Linked DNA regions of Homo sapiens: region 1 is linked to region 2. Evidence: promoter capture Hi-C in 16 types of primary human blood cells and fetal thymus (Javierre and others, 2016). All regions are on one chromosome and are shown on one strand. Each heading gives the region's core, a stretch centred on a gene start or on the middle of the fragment in contact. The rest is flanking DNA. Distances are from core to core; before and after follow the strand shown.

Region 1 (3,559 bases), core at 415-2,914, 420 kb before region 2:
AAAACTACAGACCAGTCTCATTTATGAATTCTAATGCAAAAATTCTATCAAGGAATAGACTCCAATAGTTCATTAAATACATCATGAGTAAGTAGGATTATCCCACGAAGATACTAATTAGTATATTTTTCACATTAATAAATCAAAGAAAGATAAACACACTGTCCATCTCAACAGATGCCAAAGATGTTTAACATAATTCAACATTTGTGCCTAATTTTAAAAACTTACACACTAGAGAAACTCTCATATGTAGGAAGTACGTACAAAAATATTATCAGCACATTTTAATAACAAAACACTGAAAACAACCCACATGTCCATTGAAAATACATCGATAAATTTTCATACAGTTTTTACAATGGAACATTACCCAGAAGCTACACACAGAATGAATTTGGAAACTTAACATTGAATTATGCGAGTCCCAGATGACTTATACACACAATGGTGCCATTTATATGAAGCTCAAAAAAAAAATTTAAGTACATTGCTTACAGATACATGCATATGTAATTATTTTTTAAAATAACAGGGCTACAATTAACACAAAAGTCAATATAACTGTTACCTCTAGGGGTTGGAGGCTGGGAGTTGGGTTGAGGAGGAGGAACACATTGATAAATTCAGCAGTACTGGCAATCTTCTCTTTCTTAATTGGGTGGTGTGTTCATGGATGTTTACTACTATATATGTAACATATAAATATATATTTTAAATAAATATATAAACCAGCAAGGATGGGGTGAAATTGAGGACCCAAAATGTAATACAAAGAACAGCCAATGTGCTTAACTATACTACAGTGAACATAACCACACTTAAGTGGTAGGAAAGAAAAGGGGTAAGCAACTTTGGAAAACAGTATTTTGACTAAATACCATAAGAGTAAAGACAAAAAGACCTGTATCCAAGTACTGTACTTTAGGTAGTAAATTTGCTTTTCATGGGGGTATGAATTAGCGATTCTGAGACTACTAAATATATTCTAAAACTGAGTGAATTCGTAATTACGTTGTAGAAGTCATTCCCAGGTCACTGTCAACCCTGAGCCGAGAGAAGCAGGGCTGAGTTACCTTTTGGGACTGACACTGCTCCAGGAGACAATGTCCTCCAAAAGCCGGGCTGCTTCTGCTGCCGGGTGACTGGGAGGGGCTCTGCGCTCCCACTCGGCCCTAATTCATGACCCTATGTCAGGAGCCTGGGAGCACACGGTCCATACTCGGGATGCACATAGGTTAATGTTCCTGCCAGACCTCAGCATGTCAAAAGACTTGTGGTATCACCTCGGGCCGCTTCACGCCCGCAAATATTCCATCTTTTAGCTGCACCGACACATCTTCCCCCGTCGACCAAGTGCTAAATGCTCAGGGCCTCGTGGCTGGGACAGCAACGTGCGTTTCCCCTTCCAATGGGCGCAAGCTATTGAGCCACAAAGACCAAAGCTGGAGTCGAGGAGCGCGGAAGAGCACCCCGGGCCGCCGCCCTGCTCCCTCTCCCAGCCTGGGCCTCCTGGCAGCGTAGGCCACGGGAGACCCTGCAGCACCCAGGGTGGGAGTGCGTCTCAACCGGACCCAGAGCCTGGGGGACAGGGCACGGCACACAGCGCCCGGAGCCCTGCACTCACCTCCGTAGCGGACTGCTCCCCGGCGCTGCCGGAAGTGCGTCACCAGGCGGCCGGGCCTCTCTAGGAGCAAGGTCGCTGCGCCTCGGTGGTGGTCACGCCCGGCCAGCTGTGGCCGCATCCCTGTCGGCTAGCTCGGGTCTGGCCCACGGTGACTGTTACCCCTGGGGAATGGGGCAGGTAAGAATCAGAGCCAAGCGGGGACCCAGCCCGGGGAGGTGAAGCTGCAGGTGCAGCCACGTGTGGGAGTCTTGGAAATGGACCAGTGGATGGCGCGCTGTCACACCCAATGCCCCCTTTTTCTAACAAATAGTTTGTAATGTCCATCTTATTCTCCTGACCTGATATTCATATATAATGGCCTAGAAAATCATACATAACATACACACCTACATATTAAAAACTAATGTTATGCCTTAAGTGTAATGAAAGAGAAAAAAAAGAGGACCGTCATCTGTCGTTTAAAAACACATACTTCAATGTGTTTGGTCTTGGCTGCTGCAGGAGACCTAATAAGGTGGTCGCCTTTACACATAGACGTTGTCTGAGTGCCACAGCCACAAAGCTGTGACTTACATTGTTGCAAAAGTCACAAAATTATGATCCAAAATGGCAAACATGTTTTCGTGAAGTTCTGAATGAAACACAGGACAATCGTCTCTTGATTATACAATAATTACATTCCTGGAAGATCAGTGTATGTTAAAACTGTGCAAAAATACATGTTTATCCAGAAAACAGGTTTAGATTCAGATAATTTAGAAATAGAATTTTCACCTACCTGAATGTTCAGCAAGACATTTGAAAGTGTGAACATTTTTTCAGTGGGCAGGACTGTCCTGTACATTGCAGGATCCTGGCTCCTATCCACAACGCTAGTAGCAATGTTACCACTGACACCAAATATAACAAAATACCTACCATAAAATTCCAAAATGAGCCCTGGGGGAAGGGAGACAGTACTAAATGCCACTGGATTGGACGACCCTTAAAATCCCCACCCCCTCACACACCCCCTAACCCTGGTAATGTGGGCTTTTCTTCCTTCCAGCTCTGATCCATCCAACGCTGCTGCACTGGAGACTGGTATTTGGCTCCCACTTGCCTCTGTGGCTTCTTATCACTCCCATTCATTCCCTGACTCTACCTCAGCCCTACATGCTAAAAATGCTGTTCTCTAAATCTAGAATGCCCTTCCCTTCCCATTCCTACCCTCCATCTTGACTGTTACTGGAAGTGTGAGCTCAAATCCCATTTTGCATGGGAAGCAAGCCTTCCCTCATCACCCAGAATAAGGCAGGACACTCATTTATGTGCCATCACAGCACTGTGTACTTACTTAATGGTGATAGTTTATTTATATGTCTGTCTTCTCTGGTGGCTGCAGGGAACAGACACTGTATCTATCTTGTTCAACATCATCATCCTCAGCTAGAGAATAACTGGCAGAAAGAAGGAGAGCAATAAACATTTGTTGTTGACAATGGTCCAAAGGCTCCAGCCCTAACTCTTAGGCAGAAGCCTACTTTGTGTGTCCCCAAGGGTAGGATATGTCTTATGCCTTGGACCTTGACAGTGACCATGGCCAGGTGCCCTTCTCTGCCTTGCCCTGACCCTGATCTTCACTGTTTTCCAAAATGAGTTCATTAAGAAAATGATTGGGCAGAGTAATAGCTGGGGATTACGTTGCTCTTGTCAATAAGTTCTGGTTTTCACTTCTTTCTAGGGTCAGAAATCAGGAGTGAGGACTTGTTGAAAGAAATAGGAAGGAATCAGATCACATAAATGCTGGCCCCAAATGTTTGCATCATAAACCCATTGCCTAATTTTACAGTTGAGAAAATAAAGCTCTCTAAATAACCACAAAGCTCCTACTCCTACTTCAGACATATCAGAAAAATGAGATAATAATGCACAAACCAAGTTTCAAAAGCT
Region 2 (3,655 bases), core at 913-3,412:
AGCACTTTGGGAGGCTGAGGCGGGTGGATCACCTGAGGTCGGGAGTTTGAGAACAGCCTGGCCAACATGGTGAAACCCCGTCTGTACTAAAAATACAAAAACTAGCTGGGCGTGGTGATGCATGTCTGTAATCTCAGCTACTCAGGAGGTTGAGGCAGGGAATTGCTTGAACCCGGGAGGCGGAGGTTGCAGTGAGCCAAGAACGCACCACTGCACTCCAGCCTGGGCGACAGAACGAGACTCCGTCTCAAAAAAAAAAAAAAAAGATAAATAAAAATTTAAAAAAATAAAATATACTCCTCTAATGTGATAATCTATTGAGGCTAAATATATATATACTCTATTATAGAAGAAAAAACAGAATCTTGACTAATTTTTATATTTTCTCCCTTCAAGATCAGAAACTGAAACTGTAAGATAAAGGTAATAAAGTCCCTTCTGAAGGAAGGCCAAATAATTTGAACCAGACAACATTTCAATATTAAAGCTCCAAGTCAAAAGACAGAGATGAGTGTCTGCGTATTTAAATCAGCAATGCCCGCTGCATCTTATAATCCTCCTAGTGGCCAAATGGGGAACTGACCAGATGGTACCCAATGGGACTTCACACCTGAGTGATCAAGAGAAAAATAAGCAATTACAGTCCCCTCCCACACAACGAAACGAAAATAATAACAAAAACACCCACAAAAACAGGCCTGTGGGGTCATGGGCTGTTGAAAATCAATAAGTAAATAAATAAATGGCGCTGAAAGGACACTCTTGACCACAAAGCAAGATCTCAGAGGCCAGATGACTTGTTTTATAGGCAGTTAAAGCTAATAAAACCCAGAGACATACAGCCCTAAAGGTCACTCATTTTGTTTTACTTTTAACACTGCCTCAATTTCCAAGCCAAAACCTGAAACCAAACCAAACCAAAAATGTAAATAGATAGCTGCCTGAACATGGGCTGGGAAGACAGGTAAACGGTGAGATTCAGGTCTAAAGGGATTCCATTTTAAAAGGAAAGCAGTTCTGTCTGTCTTCAGAGCAAGGTTAAGAGTCCTCGGGAAGGTGCAACGTCTCCCCTGAACACTGTCTCTGCTCTCCCACAGGTATTAGGTTGCAGCGTCTAGGGCACACCACAGACTTTGGCAAGAAAAAAAACGAGTGAAATCTCAGCTTGATGAAAAGAGAGTGCGTTCCCACCTCCAGCTCTGGTGCAGTTCCCACGGAGCAAAGCAAACTCGACTGAATCCAAGTGATCTGTATCTGCCAAAAAGGAGAGGACAAGAAAGCTGGTCACTTAGCCGCCTGGCTGTTCACCTGACCCCTGGGGTTGGGTCTGGGGCGTGTCTAATCAGCCGAGATGGTCCCTCTGCTTCTTCAAGCATGAGCCCAGGTAAATTCCCAGGAATTACCAGACAAGAGCCTGACAAGAGCCGGAGGTCTTCCGAGGCGGCTCAGACAAACCCTTAGACAACACAATCTCCGAAATCTAAATTTAGAAGCTTTTCTGCGAGACCCAGACGCGGGGACTGATACCCCCCGGTCTGCACGCCCACGCCCATCCTCCCCTCCCCCAGCTCCACCCAAGGCTGTCAGACGCCGGGGCCGTCCCCGCCGGGGCCCGAGGAGGCGGGGTGCCCGCGGCCCGCGCAAAAGCCCCCCGGCCCCGCACCCCGCGCCCCGCGCCCGAGAGCGCCAAGGGGCAGCAGGAGGAGCGGCCGGGGAGGAATTGGGGTTGGAAGCGGGGAGGGTGAGCCCGGGCTGCCCCCCTAGGCCGGAGCTGGCCCCCGGCCCTCTCCCCAGTGCAGACAAAAGGACCAACAGCCGGCGGCCGCGAGGGGGCGAGGAGCCCGCATCCCCAGCCCGGACCCGGAGGGAGGGCAGGGGGTCTTTTTACCCGGCGCCTCGGCGCTGCGCTGCGCTCTGGGTCCCTGGGCCCCGCCTCCGGACAGACGGACCGCCGGACAATGGACCCGGGACCGCAGCCCAAGCCAGCCGGGCCGGGGCGCTCCGGGACTGGGCCCCGGCGAGCGGAAGGGGCTCCGGGCCGAGCCGAGCCGGTGGCGGGGAGCCGAGGGGCGGCGCTGCAGACGGACAAAGCCAACAGCAGACAGACAGACGGAGGGGGAAAAAGATGGCGACGCGGGCGGCGGGAGCGCGCGGCTCGCGCACCCGCAGCTAGTGAGGCGCGTGCACGAGCCTCCCTCTCCCCCTCCCCCGCGCCGGCCAGGTCCCCTTCCCCGCGGCCCGGCGCGCGCCTGGCGTTGTGGGCGGGGCCTGAGGAGAGGGGCTCTGGAGAGGAGGGGCTCCGGGGAGCGCCCAATCCCGGGCGCCCGAGAGGGGCTCGCCCGCGTTCCAGGGCTCCGGAACCCCCCGCCTCGCCCATTCCCGGGTCTTTCTCTGGCTGTCTCAGCCGCTCAGCTCCCCCAGACCTTCCTGGACGTGTAAACGCCACCCTACCCAGCCCCGATCCTGGTTTCTTACCCCACCATCGAGTTCAGCCACAAAACCCACAACCCCCAACCACAGCTCCGCCGCAGGCACCCCCTCTCCTTAGCCCGGATCCCCACCACCGTCACAAACCCTCTTCGCCTCATTCCCCCACGCTTCGCGGTGGCTTCGGCTCCCGAGGCTTTGAATGTGACCACGGGCCTTGGTGGGAGGGGCCAAGTTCAGCTGTCAGAACCTCAGAGCTGGGAAATCTTGAGATTTCTTTTGAGTATTTAATTTTCTGACATGATTCTCAACTGATAAAATAACATTGGCTGCAGACCCAGGGGCAGGGGAACTTGTGGCACTGTTGTCACTTGAGGGATGTTTGGGGGCAATGGAGAGCCGTTGGACCTTTTTTTTTTTTTTTTTTTTGAGACAGAGTCTCGCTCTGTCACCCAGGCTGCAATGCAATGGCGCGATCTTCGCTCACTGCAACCTGCGCCTCCCAGGTTCAAGCGATTCTCGTGCTTCAGCCTCCCGAGTAGCTGGGACTACAGGCGTGCACCACCACGCCCAGCTAATTTTTGTATTTTTAGTAGACGGGGTTTCACCATGTTGGCCAGGCTGGTCCCGAACTCCTGACCTCAGGTGATCCTCCCGCCTCGGCCTCTCAAAGTGCTGGGATTACAGGCGTAAGCCACTGTGCCCGGCCTGGTTGGACGCACTTCTAGTCAAACACCTCCTCCTGTCCACGTCCTTCTCTCTCCTAGTTCCTGTTGCCTTCTTTTCTTCCTCTCTTCTAGAATGCCTGAGCCTGCCCTGGCATCGCTTACCTGGAGAAGCAGGGAATGCAGAGGAAAGAAGATGAGATCTGGTATTAGAAGATCTGGCTTTGAGCCCCAGCTCTGCCACCCACCAGCCTGTTGACTTTGGGCAAGTCACTTCCCTGTTCTGAGCCTCTGCTTCCTAAGATGTCAAATGGATAATGATGCAATAATTCCTGGCCTTTACTCTCCGAGGGTTGTTGTGCCAGTTAAGTAAAACAAATGGCTAAAAGCATCATGCAAATGTTTTTCGTGATTACTGGCTGCACAAAGGCAGGGCTAACGAGGATGCTGTCATTTGCTGATAAAGTGACAAGTCCTGGTATTTGCATAGAACATTCTTGCAAATTGTCTTTCCCCTAAATCTTTTATGAGATGATCTCATTGTCTGCATCTTGTGTTCAATG

The links. The method cuts DNA at HindIII sites, captures the fragments that hold promoters and counts their contacts. A CHiCAGO score of 5 or more calls a contact.
Region 1: a contact is called between the fragment with the promoter of ZNF23 here and the fragment with the promoter of ZNF821 in region 2, in 2 of 17 cell types (naive B cells and fetal thymus). The highest score is 5.5, in naive B cells.

The regions. Positions count from the first base shown.
Region 1 is chr16:71,460,583-71,464,141 of GRCh38, forward strand. It overlaps ZNF23 (zinc finger protein 23), which reads right to left and starts at 1,665. Exons shown (of 5, transcript NM_001381984.1): 1 at 1,628-1,665. LOC124903709 (a long non-coding RNA gene) reads left to right here and starts at 1,730. Exons shown (of 2, transcript XR_007065105.1): 1 at 1,730-2,710; 2 at 3,351-3,559. RefSeq lists enhancers at 1,264-1,353, 1,624-1,783. The HindIII fragment of the contact is 7,082 bases long and covers 1-3,559 here.
Region 2 is chr16:71,882,020-71,885,674 of GRCh38, forward strand. It overlaps ZNF821 (zinc finger protein 821), which reads right to left and starts at 2,163. Exons shown (of 8, transcript NM_001201552.2): 1 at 1,889-2,163; 2 at 1,192-1,254. RefSeq lists enhancers at 989-1,188, 3,029-3,529 and silencers at 1,549-1,668, 1,689-2,448. The HindIII fragment of the contact is 5,845 bases long and covers 1,492-3,655 here.